5 separate regions of the Homo sapiens genome follow, and all the other regions are linked to region 5. The links are contacts of gene promoters, found by promoter capture Hi-C in blood cells and fetal thymus (Javierre and others, 2016). All regions are on one chromosome and are shown on one strand. The core of a region is centred on a gene start or on the middle of the fragment in contact, and the rest is flanking DNA. Distances in the headings are between cores, read along the strand shown.

Evidence for each region. Contacts are between HindIII fragments. The CHiCAGO score rates a contact against its expected background, and 5 or more counts as called.
Region 1: a fragment that was not itself captured here is called in contact with the fragment with the promoter of ITGAV in region 5 in 1 of 17 cell types (activated CD4 T cells); the score reaches 6.2 in activated CD4 T cells.
Region 2: the fragment with the promoter of OSGEPL1-AS1 here is called in contact with the fragment with the promoter of ITGAV in region 5 in 1 of 17 cell types (M0 macrophages); the score reaches 6.1 in M0 macrophages.
Region 3: a contact is called between the fragment with the promoter of MFSD6 here and the fragment with the promoter of ITGAV in region 5, in 2 of 17 cell types (M0 macrophages and non-activated CD4 T cells). The highest score is 9.8, in M0 macrophages.
Region 4: a contact is called between a fragment that was not itself captured here and the fragment with the promoter of ITGAV in region 5, in 2 of 17 cell types (total CD4 T cells and non-activated CD4 T cells). The highest score is 8.6, in total CD4 T cells.

What each region holds. Positions count from the first base shown.
Region 1 is chr2:183,120,262-183,122,961 of GRCh38, forward strand. It overlaps a transcript of NUP35 not described here. Among named protein-coding and RNA genes, the nearest start is that of NUP35, 2.8 kb to the right of the region's middle. The HindIII fragment of the contact is 2,711 bases long and covers 1-2,606 here.
Region 2 is chr2:189,761,349-189,764,048 of GRCh38, forward strand. OSGEPL1-AS1 (OSGEPL1 antisense RNA 1) reads left to right here and starts at 1,432. Exons shown (of 2, transcript NR_102429.1): 1 at 1,432-1,644. OSGEPL1 (O-sialoglycoprotein endopeptidase like 1) reads right to left here and starts at 1,444. Exons shown (of 9, transcript NM_022353.3): 1 at 1,337-1,444; 2 at 72-312. The coding sequence starts at 292. It also overlaps a transcript of ANKAR not described here and a transcript of ORMDL1 not described here. RefSeq lists enhancers at 927-1,086, 1,373-2,119. The HindIII fragment of the contact is 3,776 bases long and covers 1-1,519 here.
Region 3 is chr2:190,407,089-190,409,788 of GRCh38, forward strand. MFSD6 (major facilitator superfamily domain containing 6) reads left to right here and starts at 1,267. Exons shown (of 8, transcript NM_017694.4): 1 at 1,267-1,415. RefSeq lists an enhancer at 538-587 and a silencer at 848-1,887. The HindIII fragment of the contact is 2,674 bases long and covers 27-2,700 here.
Region 4 is chr2:183,143,983-183,146,682 of GRCh38, forward strand. The region is part of intron 4 of NUP35 (nucleoporin 35); the gene reads left to right. Among named protein-coding and RNA genes, the nearest start is that of NUP35, 21 kb to the left of the region's middle. The HindIII fragment of the contact is 2,224 bases long and covers 196-2,419 here.
Region 5 is chr2:186,588,606-186,591,305 of GRCh38, forward strand. It overlaps ITGAV (integrin subunit alpha V), which reads left to right and starts at 1,451. Exons shown (of 30, transcript NM_002210.5): 1 at 1,451-1,918. The coding sequence starts at 1,734. LOC124906105 (a long non-coding RNA gene) reads right to left here and starts at 1,291. Exons shown (of 2, transcript XR_007087465.1): 1 at 385-1,291. RefSeq lists a silencer at 1,514-1,743 and an enhancer at 1,874-1,933. The HindIII fragment of the contact is 2,158 bases long and covers 1,042-2,700 here.

The sequences.
Region 1 (2,700 bases), core at 1-2,500, 3.5 Mb before region 5:
ATGGCAAAACCCTGTCTCTACTAAAAATACAAAAAGTAGCCGGGTGTGGCGGTGTACACCTGTAATCCCAGCTACTCGGGAGCCTGAGGCAGGAGAATTTCTTGAACACGGGAGGCAGATGTTGCAGTAACCTGAGATCGCTCCACTGTACTCCAGCCTGGATGACAGAGTGAGACTCCGTCTCAAAAAAAAAAAAAAAAAAGAAAGTTTTGGCTACTGGTGTGTTAGGCTTGGTGGGAGAAACTGAAGGCAGGGAGATGTAAGGAGTTGACTGCAATTGTATAGGAATTGAAGAGGCAGAAAGAATATCTCAATGTTTGATGGTAGAGAAGGTGAATGTCAGAAAAAACAAAGTGGAGCAGACACTGTACTAAGAATAACCATTTTTCAAAGTAGGTATTGTTTCTATTTTACAAACAATATAATCTAGAAATCAAATACAAATCCAAGTTATATAGGTTTTAGTGAGAGAGTTGGGCTCTGAATTGAGGTTCGTCTGACTCTAAATTCTGCTAATGCACTATGAATTCAATTTTGAGTTTCTAAGAGATGGAAAGAAAAAGACAAAAGATGAGCTTGCTTTTGAGGTTTGATGTACGGGTAGGTTGTGCAGCAAGCATCTGGAAAAGTGGCATTTGGCTTTAGAGATGTTGGGTATAGATTATTAAAAATTATTTGCACAGGGTGACAATGATAAGGATTCCAAGGGAGACCACTAAGAGTTGAAAAAGAAAGGAGAGAGCAAAGGCTTGAACATCAATAATATTCCCAGGTTAGAAAAAAAATGGGATCAATTATTGAAAAACCAGAAAAGGAGTAGGAAGTTATGAGAAATAGGAAGTGTAGCATCACCAAAAATAAAGAAAACACTTGTACTTAGGAAAAGATTGTCAAAGCTGTTGGATACTGCAGATGTCAAGGAGGCAGGTCTAATTTGGCAATTAGAAAAAAAAAATAGTTGGGGTCAGTAGTTTTATTTCGGAAGAGCATTACACAGGAGCCAATCTGCAATTAATTAAAAATCAAAATAGTAAAGATAGGGAAACAGATAATTTACTAAAATCTATAGACACTTCTTTTGAGATTTTGAAAAAATGAAATGAGAGAGAAATTAGCACATGGTAGGTAGGTGGAGGAGCAAGGCCTAGGGAGGGTTTCAATTCTGGGCTTCTTTATAGCTTGGTAAGGAAAGAGCCTGTTGAAAGGGTAAAAGATTGAAATGCAGGTAAAGAAAAGAAAATAAATGTCTTAATGGAAAAAAGTTTTTAATTTAAAAAGTAAAGAAAATAGGGCTGGGCGCGGTGGCTCACACCTGTAATCCCAGCTCTTTGGGAGGCTGAGGCAGGTGGATCATGAGGTCAGGAGATCGAGACCATCCTGGCCAACATGGTAAAACCCTGTCTGTACTAAAATTCAAAAAAAAAAATGAGTTGGGTGTGGTGGCATGCGCCTGTACTCCCAGCTACTCGGGAGACTGAGGCAGGGGAATCAGTGGAGGTTGCAGTGGAGTGCCAGAGCTGAGATCGTGTCACTGCACTCCAGCCTGGTGACAGAGCGAGACTACATCTCAAAATAAATAAATAAATAAATAAAATAGCAATAACACCTGTCATCAACCACAAAATTGTATAAAATAAGTTAAAGGCCATTCTTTTTATTATTATTATTATTATACTTTAAGTTCTAGGGTACATGTGCACAACGTGCAGGTTTGTTACATATGTATACATGTGTAAAGGCCATTCTTAAATCCTCCAATTTACAAACCCTTTTCTACTTTACTGTTAATAGTTTGGTGCAAATCTTTTTCTTTTTCTTTTCTTTTTTTTTTTTGGACACAGAGTCTCGCTCTGTCGCCAGGCTGGAGTGCAGTGGCATGGTCTTGGCTCACTGCAACCTCCACCTCCTGGGTTCAAGCGATTCTCCTGCCTCAGCCTCCCAAGTAGCTGGGATTACAGGCATGTGCCACCATGCCCGGATAATTTTTGTATTTTTTAGTAGAGATGGGGTTTCACCATGTTGGCCAGGCTGGTCTGGAACTCCTGACCTCGTGATCCGCCCGCCTTGGCCTCCCAAAGTGCTGGGATTACAGGCATGAGCCACCATGCCCGGCTGGTGCAAATCTTTTTCAACATCTTCTTTTATTTAAAGAAGTATCACTCTTTTCTCTTTCTCTGCATCTGTTCCTAAATAAACCCGTTATTAAATAAAAATGGTGCCGTATATGCATGCATGTTTTCAAATTACTTTTTTTCATTATATCTATCACAGAGGTCTTTCTAGGTTAATATTTACACTCATATCAAATCCATCTAATTCATTTTAGTTGTTGTATAGTGTTCTTTTGTTTGGCTAGATCATAATTTGTATAGAAATTTCTTTTTTATTTTGTAGAGAAGTGGGGTCTCACTATCTCAAACTCCTGGACTCAAGTGATCAACCCCTCAGCCTCCCAAGGTGCTGGGATTGCAGGTGTGAGCCACCACATCTAGCCTCAATGTGTGTAGAAATTTATACATTGATATACCTTTCTTGGTAGCTTAATTCTAAAAAGTGGATTGCCCTGTGTTGTGGGCTGACTACTCCCCAAAGATATCCATACACTAAGCTTTAGAATCTGTGAATGTTACCTTATATGGCAAAAGGTATTTTGAAGATGTGATTATTAACTTAATCACCTCTACTGAATATTGAAATAGT
Region 2 (2,700 bases), core at 182-2,681, 3.2 Mb after region 5:
TATGACAAATACAAAAGAATGATTTTACTTTTTCCAAAAAAGTGGAAATGACTAAGATAATGTCTACTTACTTTAAATGAACTTCAGTTTGGGAATGTATTGCTTCTCCCAACACATTTCCAGTTTCATCCACCACAGCAGCTGCTGTATCATCACAACTAGTTTCAATTCCCAATACTATTTTATGAAGAAATAGTGTTCCAGGATGAAAATTAAAACTTCTTAAAAATTCATAAACTTTCCTTTTTGATGGTTTAAAAAAAACTCCTGCAGTCTTAGTCAAGATTAGCATACTTACTCTATAGATAATTCCTGAAAAAGAATTACAGAAACAACTTATTATTTGCAACTGACATTAGCCAGCTTATTTTTCAATATATAGTTTTACAGAATTACAGGAAAGTTTGTAAAAGTCACCAAAAGTTTGTAAAGGCTATAGCAACATGGGAATATAAATAATATTATGAATGAATATAATGTTCTCCAAGGGGGAAAACAGGGGTCAGATATAAAATTTTTTAGTATTATTATTACTTGCATGCTGTTCCTACCAAAAGACTTACTATTAAGACAGCTAATATAAAGTACAATAATTGATAGAGTCCTCTGAAAAGTGCTATTTATTTTTTGACAGCTAAAATTAAGACAAAATGTGGATTTTCTAAAAAGAATCAAACAACAAAGGCAGATGGAACAGATAAAAATACTGTTAATGTATTCCATCTCCTAAAAACATCTTTCAAAATAAAACTGGATCATTTGGTTCAAAAACAAGAGTTAACATAAACACACACACGCCAACTGCAACCTAACACCTATTTTATCCTTAATTGCAATCTTTGGAATTAAATCTCCACTTTTTGCTACAGGTTTTGTCATAACAAGGATCTTCCCAAATCCTTTTCCCCCAAAATAATAGCAGCCCATCACTAAAGCACACTAGTATTTTCACACTGCGAAGCACCTAATTTTATGCCCCCAGATCATCCGTTCTAAAACTTTCTGGGTGTTAAAGCAGGGCCTTTCTCCACCACACTAAAGGGACACGGCATCCCAGGGATTAGAGATGAGCGACCTATTTGCAGAAGGCAGTTGCGGGCAGTGCAGCCCAGACAGACACAACCTAGAGGAATTAGATTTGCATTAACAAAATCTGGACAAGGAGGATTGTACGAAGCACTACCCTTTCGGGCCAAGAAAGCTGCAGGCTGAACCCACGTGACTTGGGTAGCGCTGGTCTCCTGTCGGCTGTAAGGCGGCGACGGGCGCAAACTGGAACCGCTTTTCCAGGTGCGCAAAAGCGTCAGTGGGGTGAAGAGTGAGCAATTTCACCCACCTTCCACTTGGGCGGCAGTAGCTAGCACTTGTCTCCTTTCCCTACTAAAGACTGTCGACTGCCCTTATCGCTGCAGGAGAAAGCCCGAACCTGGCGCCCGGAAGTGATGTCATCGGAACTGTGCAAGGTCCCGTCCAGAGCTGGCTGCTGTTCCGCTAGCGAGCGGCATGCTTAGTGAAGAAAAGCTTAAAGGCCGTCTTTGCCCAAAACGCTCTCTGTGCGCACCTGCATTTCCCCCAGATTTGCAGGTGATGAGAGTTCTGTAAAATTACACAGCTAGTGACTGATCCAGCGGAGGCCGAATACAGGTTTGTCTGACTACACAACATCAAGTTCCAAACACTAAGCTACATTAAAAAGAAATTTTTTTTTTGCCCTTGGCTGGAATTTGGTTGCTACTGTGAGAAAAGGATGGGGTAGATTATTCGTCATTCATTTTTAAGGGAACTATCATCAAATCTAAACTTAGGGGTGAGGTACCTGATACTTTCATCGGAGAAATAGGATGGAATCTAGCGGCGCCCCCTAGCAGGGTTACCAAAGAACGGAAGTGTTTCTCATCGGACAGTGTAAACCGTTTCTCCCACTTCACTAGGAAGAAAGGGGCTGGCTTATTTTTACAATTAAAAAAAAAAAAAATCGGGAGACTGAGGCAGGAGAACTGCTTGAACTGGGACCCGGGAGGCGGAGGTAGCAGTGAGCCGAGATCGCGCCACTGCACTCCAGCCTGAGCTACAGAGCGAGACTCTGTCTCAAAAAAAAAAAAAAAAAAAAAAAAAAGGCTGTGGTAAATATTCAGTTGCCTTAAACCATCCTATTTTCATAATGCATTATGTTGTCCTTCCTTACTATGTACATGAAATTCAGCATGGTATGTTTTCAAAGTCTTGCACCTGCTTTTTTTTTTTTTTTTCTTTTATTGGTTTGTGAACTTTGTTTTGAACATTGGACAGATTTATTCCAAGAGTCAGGCTTTTCCCCTGCTGGTATTTAAGATTTTAGTAAGCAAGGACCTTAGAATCCACTGTTGTACAGGGCTGGCATATATACCTGCACTTTGCACGTTGTGAAGCTCTGGGTATAAAAGATGAGTAAATCCCATAACAACATGTTGGGAAGCCACAGAGTACAGTCTAGAGGTGGATACAGATAAATAAGTAAATAATTACCAGAATATGGTTGAGGTTTTTTATTTGGAACTTATGTTTTTCAAAAATTTCATTTATGTGTAACAATAATGATAAAGTGGCACTATGTACCAGGCACCTGCTGTAGATTAATTTCTTTCAAAATCCCATGAAATAGTTTCTGTCCTCATTTTACAGGCAACTGGGCCACAGAGTTTGGGTGCTTTGGAGGTCACA
Region 3 (2,700 bases), core at 17-2,516, 3.8 Mb after region 5:
ATTTAGCATGAGGCTACTATAGTTTAAGCTTCAGAGACCCTTCATAAGCTCAGGAAGGGGCCCTAGAAACTTCGTATTTGTAATTGTTTTATTCTTCCTAAAGAGGGACTCAAAATTCAGAAACTTCAGGGCCTATCAAATTCTTACCAGTATGATTTCACGGTTAAGAGCTTAAAGCCTGGAGACAAAAGAAGCCTGCTTTCCCTTTCGCTGTTTAGTAACTTTGGATGGGTCACATTAACTTTCAGCCTCGGCTTTCCTCAGTTGTAAAATGGGAATAACGTTTCCTACACCTATAGGGTTATAAGGCTCAAAGAGTACCTACACAGTGCCCCGTACATAATCGATGTTTATAAGCGTTAGCTACCATTGTCACTCTTGTCGTTGTTGCCGTTAGCTACCATTGTCACTCTTGTCGTTGTTGCCAGAACAAGACAATAAACTCCTTAAGAACAGGATGTGGCATCCCCCAAAGCCCATCACAGGCACACAGACATACTTGCCAAGTGAATACTCCACTCTCCCCCAACTCTCTGCGTGTTTAACTAGAAATACAACTTTAATTATATTCTTAGTGCGACACACACGGTTGGCTTTTCAGCAAGATGCCAGTAGCAGCTTCCTGAAAAAGGGTGCCTTCGTCTCAGTGTTCCCCCTTCTTGGTGAGCCCCGAAACTCACAGATCGTTTGTCTCCCGCACCCCGCCGGCTCCTCCCTCCCGGGTCAACCTGGGACAGACGCGGAGATAACGCACTGACAGCATTAGCATTGTGTGTGCCACTTAAAAGGCGCTCAAGGAATAAGGGATGTTAGTACATTTTCCCCCACATTTCCTGGCCCGCACTCATTGCCTGGGGGCTCAGCGGAAGTCGCTTGGGGGTGCGGGGGGGTGGAGGGTGCGGTAGGGATGGAGCCTCGCCCAGTGCTTTCGCCTCCTCAGCGTGCTCCCCGGGCCCGGCTGGGTTCAGGTGTCCCTCCGGGCCGCCGGGGCGGGCTGGAGGCCGGGAGCGGGCAGTCGACGCATCCGCCGCCGCCGCAGGAGGCGGAGCGCTGCACCTGGCGGCCGGTCCTCAGCGCCCGGCCCTGAAACGGGTCCAGCCGGTAGTGACCGGCGGCGGCGACTGTGAGGCCGGGGCCGGGGAGGAGGAGGAGCCGCAGCGGGAGAGAAGGTCGCGCCGGCGGGAGCGCTGGGCCCTCCGCCTCCGTCCTCCGTGGCCCCACCCGGTCCGCATCCCTCGCCTCGCCTCGCCGCGCCCCGCCCAGCCCGTCGCAGCCCCGGAGGAGCGCGCGAGCAGCCCGGGATGGTGCGCGCTGCCCCGACAGCCGCCGCCCCGGCGCCCCGAGCCGCCGCCCCGTGCTCCGGGGACAGGGCTCCCCGCGCCCCGCGCAGCTGAGCGCTGCCGCCGCCGCAGCAGGTGAGTCGGGCCCGGCTTGCGGAGAAGGGGCTCGCAGACCCGCCCTGGCCTCCCCCGCCCCGCACGGGCCCAGCCGGAGGGCGGGTAGGCACCTCAGCCGCGCACACCTGCTGCCGGGAAAGGGGCTTCGGGGCCGGGGCTCGGAGCCCAGCGTGCGCCGCTGTCTCCGCTCGGGCCTCGCTCGCCCGCCGCTCCCTCCCTCCCTCCCTCCCCCGGCTTCCGTGTCGGGTGTCATCTTTGTGGGGTGCTGGGGGAGGCTGCCGCCTGCGCCCCCAGCGCGCCCCGTGCTGGCAGCACTTCCGCAAACGTAACTGGAGTCGGGAAAACAAAGGCGCTGCCCAGGGAGCCCTCGCCGGGCGCCCACAGCTGCTGCCGCGGGTGGGGACGGAGGGTGAGCGCCGATGCCCGGGTCCTCCTCCGCCCGGGCCGACCCGCGCCCTCGCCATAAACATCCCTGGGAAAAAGGAGGAGGTGAGAACCTCCACACAGCCCCAGTGACAAGGACGCGGCCACTTGTGTGGCAGGAGGAGGAAATTGACAACGTCTGCCCTCCCAGGTTAATAAATACGGAAAAAAAAATACCTCTGCTCTGCCAGCCACCATCCTAGCAGACATCCCCCACCTCGTGCTTTACTTCCACTTGGTCTAACATGTCTCTGGAGCCCTTTTGAGATACTACTGGGGGTTGCTAGTCTTTCTGGGTCATATTTATTGCCCATAGAGCAATTTTCCTGCAAATTTAGGTAAGATGGTGGAAAAATACAAACGCAACTTTCCCCCTCGTTAATCCCATCCCCACATGGACAGACAGGTGGGTTAATTACCTTTATGCATTCGCAACCACGGACGTTTCTTTTCATCCCAAAAAGATTGAATAAGCACCTCACAGAACTACTGGAACATATAATACCTTGCTTATTAGTGTGCAAAAGACTTAAAGAGTTGGGGTTCTAATCCCAACTGGTATTTAAATAGATGTGTGTGCTTGGGCATGTCACATCTTCCTGAGCCCCAGTTTTCTCACATGGAAAAGAGGATGGTTGGATATTATAGTGGCCAAAATTTCCCCTAATCCTTCTAGAAGTCCATGATTTTCTAGAAATCTAACCTCTTAAGTATAGATGAATGTGAAGGGTGGGTGGACATACAGTTGACTAAAATATGTAATAAAAGGAGATGTGTACTTGGTAGGTCCTTTCCCCAAGATGTGGGCACTAGCCAGCTAAAAGTGTATGCATCTGTTTTAGCCTTGTTAAGTAAAAGGATAGGATCCTCCTCTTTGGGA
Region 4 (2,700 bases), core at 58-2,557, 3.4 Mb before region 5:
CACTTTAGACCAGCTGTCTATAAATTAAGAGGTTACCAAGGCTGCTTGTAATGTTTGGTAGTTTACTAGAAAGACTCACAACCTCACTGAAAGTGCTGTGCTCATGGTTACAGTTTTATTACAGCAAAAAGAAACAAATTAGAGCCAGCCAAAGGAAGACACATAGGGTGACGTTGGAAAGGGTTCCAAATGTGAAGCTTCCTTTCCATTGTCTTCAGGGAGATGTGTTATCCTCCCAGCGTCAATGTATGGCAATATACATGGAGTACTACCAACTAGGGAAGCTCACTGGAGCATCTATGTCCACAGTTTTTATTGGAGTTTCATTACATAGGCATGATTGAATTACCAATCAGGTGGTTGAGTTCAGTCTCCAGTCTTCCTCCTCTTGTTGAGCAGAGACCAAATCCCTTATTACATATTGTGCTACTTTGTTTCATGATAAGAAGTTAACACCGCCAGGAACCTCTTTTTTCCAAGTTTCATTTGGCTCGTATCTATTTAAAATTTACTAGTCTTTTAATCTCTTTTGTTTTCATTTAGGTTAGTGGTCTATTTTGAAATAATTGAATCTTTCTTTTAATTGAAGACATTTTCATAAAGGGTAATAAGGTCTTTTGCCCTCTGCTTTAATCCAGTCTTAGGAAGAATGTTTGAATAGTGATTTACTCAGGGAGACACATTGCAGTCCGATTTGATGTGGTTTGATAGGCACACTTTATTTTCATCTTACAAAGCATGGCATGTGGGCATCAGAAGTCTGATTGAAAGGAAGTAAAATTAGTGGAGCAATTAAACATTAACTAGGTGGGGGGCAATTATGCTAAAGTTATGTAAATAGTTTTAGATTATGTATAAGTAATTATATTTTTCAGAGTAGTTGACAGGGCAAAAATTAGATTGCTTATTCGTTTGAGACTTATTTTTGATTTGTTTTATTTTTAAAGGTTGTAACGGTTGTCACAATTCGAACCTTCATTTAATTTCTTGCTTGAAGATTATTACATGATGTAGCATAACTAAATTTTATCTTCTTAATGGTAATACTTGTAGACTGTAGAAAATTTGGATTGGCTTCAGATTAAATGCCTTTTACTGTCTTCAGTTTGTTAATGGAATGTCTTTGTAGTAACTAAAATTAGTTAAGAGTATCTTTTGTATAAATATATGCTTCCACTTACTAAAGCAATAGTTGGTAACTTAGTTGATAAGTAGATTCTTAAAAATATAACAGCACTTGTCAAAGTGGGATGTTTCATTCTAAATCAGACTTATTTTAGAAATGTATTGAACAGGTTGAATATCCCTTAGCAGAACTGCTTAGGACCAGAAGAGTTTCAGATTTTGGAATATTTGCATTATACTTATCAGTTGAGCATTGAAAATCTGAAATTTCCTTTGAGTGTTATGCTGGTGCTCCAAAAGTTACACGTTTTGGAACATTTTGGATTTTGTATTTACAGATTTGGGATACTCAGCCTATACCTATTAAATGCTTCTGTGGTGATGAGGGAAGTAAATTGTTAAATGTATTATAGGATGATGTACTTTAGTATTCCTCCACATGTACCCCATACATTTGTACAAATAAAAAGCTATCCAGTATAGTTGAAGATTACCTGAAAGAGAATTTTTAAAAGTTTAATAAATATTACTTAGTTATTACATCTATAATGAACCTTAACACAAGACTTAGGTGTTACTCCAACAATAAAATGGGACAATAGACAAGAACTTTAAAAAGTTAACTGTTGTTAGTAATACATAACTTCAATTACAGCACAAATATTAATTTATAAAGTCAAGTCTAACAGACTTCTAGGAATGATGTCCATGTCTTGCCTCCAAATGATATCAAAACAAAACTACAGCCTGGACAGGATCAAAAGAGTTATCAAGTAAAAACTACAATGCAATAATATCATTCTAACTGAAAAGAAAAAATATAATCACTTAAGAATTTCAAAAATCTGCTGTGCATGGTAGCTCACGCTTGGAATTGCAGCACTTTGGGAGGCCAAGGCAGGTGGATCACCTGAGGTCAGGAGTTCGAGACCAGCCTGGCCAACCTGGTGAAACCTCGTCTCTATTAAAAATACAAAAATTAACTGGGTGTGGTGGCACACACCTGTAATCCCAACTACTCCAGAAGCTGAGACAGGAGAAACGCTTGAACCCAGGAGGCGGAGGTTGCAGTGGGCTGAGATCGTGCCACTGCACTCCAGCCTGGGCAATAGAGTGAGACTCTGTCTCAAAAAAAAAAGTATTTCAAAAATCTTACTTCTTTAGGGTTGCTAAACAATTTGAGTTCCTAGACTCCTTTGAATTCAAATTTAGAAACTAGAACTAATCTAATTTAACCTATTAATGTACACTTTCCTTTAGGAAAAATATTTTTCAGATCACCTCACATCTATTAAGCTTATTGAAGAATATATTTTATCCAGAACACTATTCTAGACCTTACTAGACAACAAGATGTTCAAATAGTACTGCTATTTTGAGTTCTACAAATCTCCAAACCGCTTTCTGTTGAGGCTGAACTAATTTACACTCCCACCAACAGCATATAAGGGTTCCCTCTGCAGCCTTATCAACATTCTTACATTCTTATTTTTTGACCTTTTTTTTTTTAAGTTGGAGTCTCACTGTCACCCAGGCTGGAGTGAAGTGGCACGATGTTGGCTCACTGCAACCTCT
Region 5 (2,700 bases), core at 201-2,700:
TGGCAGGCTCATGACTTATCATAACCTGGAACTCCTGAGCCTAAGCGATCTATCTACCTGCCTTAGCCTCCGGCATAGCTGGGACTACAGGCATGCACCACACTCCCAGCTAATTTTTAAATTTTTGTAGAGATGAGGTCTCCCTATGTTCCCCTGGAACTCCCGGTCTCAAGCAATCCTCCTGCCTCAGTCTCCCAAAGTGCTGAGATTGCCAGCATGAGCACCTGGACCTGGTCCAATAAATATTACAAATTCGAATTAGGCATTTCACTTTCATTTATATACATATCCTTTCACAGGATTATTTGATAGTTATTAATGTATATTATGATTGAGTTTTAATAGTTACTTTGGGAAAACAGAAATTACTGTTCCAGTACTTACTTGTAAGTTGTAAGTCCACACAATGCACTTAAACTTCACCTTGTTCAACAGATTCTGTAGCACATGAAACACTTGAAATATGGAAGAGTCACTTCTCTGGGCACTTTGCTCATTTCGTCTGCTATTCATTCACTGATTGGACATTTTATTGATCGACTACTATCTGCTTGGCAAGGTGCTAGAAATAAGAACACTAAGAAAAAGGTCAAGGTTCCTGTCCTCAAGGCCCTCTCTCTCAGTCCAGTGTTGTCAAGGCTTGATGAAACACACCAGTGGCAAACAAGCACGCGGGGCCTTATTTCACCGGTGTGCGGTCCTTCTTCCAGCTCTGAAATTATGTCTATCCAAACATCCTAAATCAACAAATCAGTGTTTCTAAATCATACAACCGCAGCTAACAAACTGGGAATAAGGCTTCGATTATTCTGACTTGATTTAAAACGATCACTGCCAATTCTTTGCCCTGCGAATCCTTTCTTTGACTACTAAGTTAAGCTTTACATACCTCACTTGCAAGAGGCTATGCTGGCTTTCTGGAAATCCGTAATTAAGTTCAGTGTTTGTGGAATGGAGTGTAATTAACGACCATTAATTAACAGGGTTTCGTTCGTGAGAGCCTGCCAGGCTAAGCAGCAGAAACACGAGAAACTGATAAAAAGCTTTCCTCATTTTTAAACAACAGTCGCACGGAAGTTCCCGGCGGGACAAGGGAACGTGGGTGCCCTTGCTACTCCCGTGGACGCGGGTAGATTGGGACGCTGGACCGTATCTCCCCGCCCCCGCCCCCACGCCTCCTCAGGTGCTCAGCCTGAGGCCTTCGTCCAGGAGCGCTGCCGCTGACCCAGGCTCAGGAGCTGGGGGCCCCTGCACAGACGCCCAGGTCTCGGGACAGGCGGCGACTGCACTCACGGAAGTACGCTGAGCTCTCCCCTGTAGAAGGGCGCCTCTCCTCCCCCACTTCCTCCTCCAGCTCCACAGCAGCCTCCCGGGCCGGCTCCTCCTCCTTCCAGGTCTCCTCCCAGTGCCGCCGCGGCTCTCAGGCCTGAGGTGCGGCGCTCACCCCGGCAGTCCCCAGCCTCAGACGCTGCGTGGAGCGGCGGAGCCGGAGGGAAGCAAAGGACCGTCTGCGCTGCTGTCCCCGCCCCGCGCGCTCTGCGCCCCTCGTCCCTGGCGGTCGCTCCGAAGCTCAGCCCTCTTGCCTGCCCCGGAGCTGTCCCGGGCTAGCCGAGAAGAGAGCGGCCGGCAAGTTTGGGCGCGCGCAGGCGGCGGGCCGCGGGCACTGGGCGCCTCGCTGGGGCGGGGGGAGGTGGCTACCGCTCCCGGCTTGGCGTCCCGCGCGCACTTCGGCGATGGCTTTTCCGCCGCGGCGACGGCTGCGCCTCGGTCCCCGCGGCCTCCCGCTTCTTCTCTCGGGACTCCTGCTACCTCTGTGCCGCGCCTTCAACCTAGACGTGGACAGTCCTGCCGAGTACTCTGGCCCCGAGGGAAGTTACTTCGGCTTCGCCGTGGATTTCTTCGTGCCCAGCGCGTCTTCGTAAGTGGCCGCACTTGGAACTGGAGCCGGCCCCCTCCCCCACCGCGCGCACCCACCCAGCGTTTCTCCATTGGGATTGATTTCCGAGAGATCCCGGCGTCTGTCTGTCTCACCCATCCTACCTCTCAGAGTGGTTTATATCCTGGGTGGAGGAAATATTTGGGGAAATGAACTCCCTTTGGTACCCATCACCCAGTTACACCCCGCTTCTCACCTCTTAAAATTGGTTAGGGGCAGCGGGAGAGCTTTGAAGCAGACCTGTGCTTAAAAATCGGGGAAAGTGGGAAATCAACAAAGGCTGGTCTTGCCGGACTCCCCGCCTCCTGTGCCAGTGTCGAGGATTTGGTCAATATCATCCCCGAACTTCTTTTTCTCCTCTACCAGTTAGGCTTCTTGGTAGCCTTTTTCTGCTTTACAGGCTTAACGCCCGTCCTTTTCAGTCTCCCTAAACAAGCCCTCCCCCACTCTTTCCGCCTCTGTCTGATTCTGTTTCTCCTTACTCCTTTTGCAGACATTCTGATGACTTAAAATGACCATACTGTCCTATTGAATTCATTGTGTCTTATCTCTGGGACTGTCAGACATTTGCACATTTGAGGTTGAACAGATGAATTGAATGTGTCATCTGTTCTTTTTATAGTGATTCACTATTTAGGTCATTGTTCAGAAGGAACAAGGGTGTTTGCTGAGTTTTCACTCGCTGCAGGTCATTTGAATACTGCAGTATTTAATAATTCAGTTATGTTTTCAAGTTGCCAACGTTCCGCGTTGCAAGGGCCGTC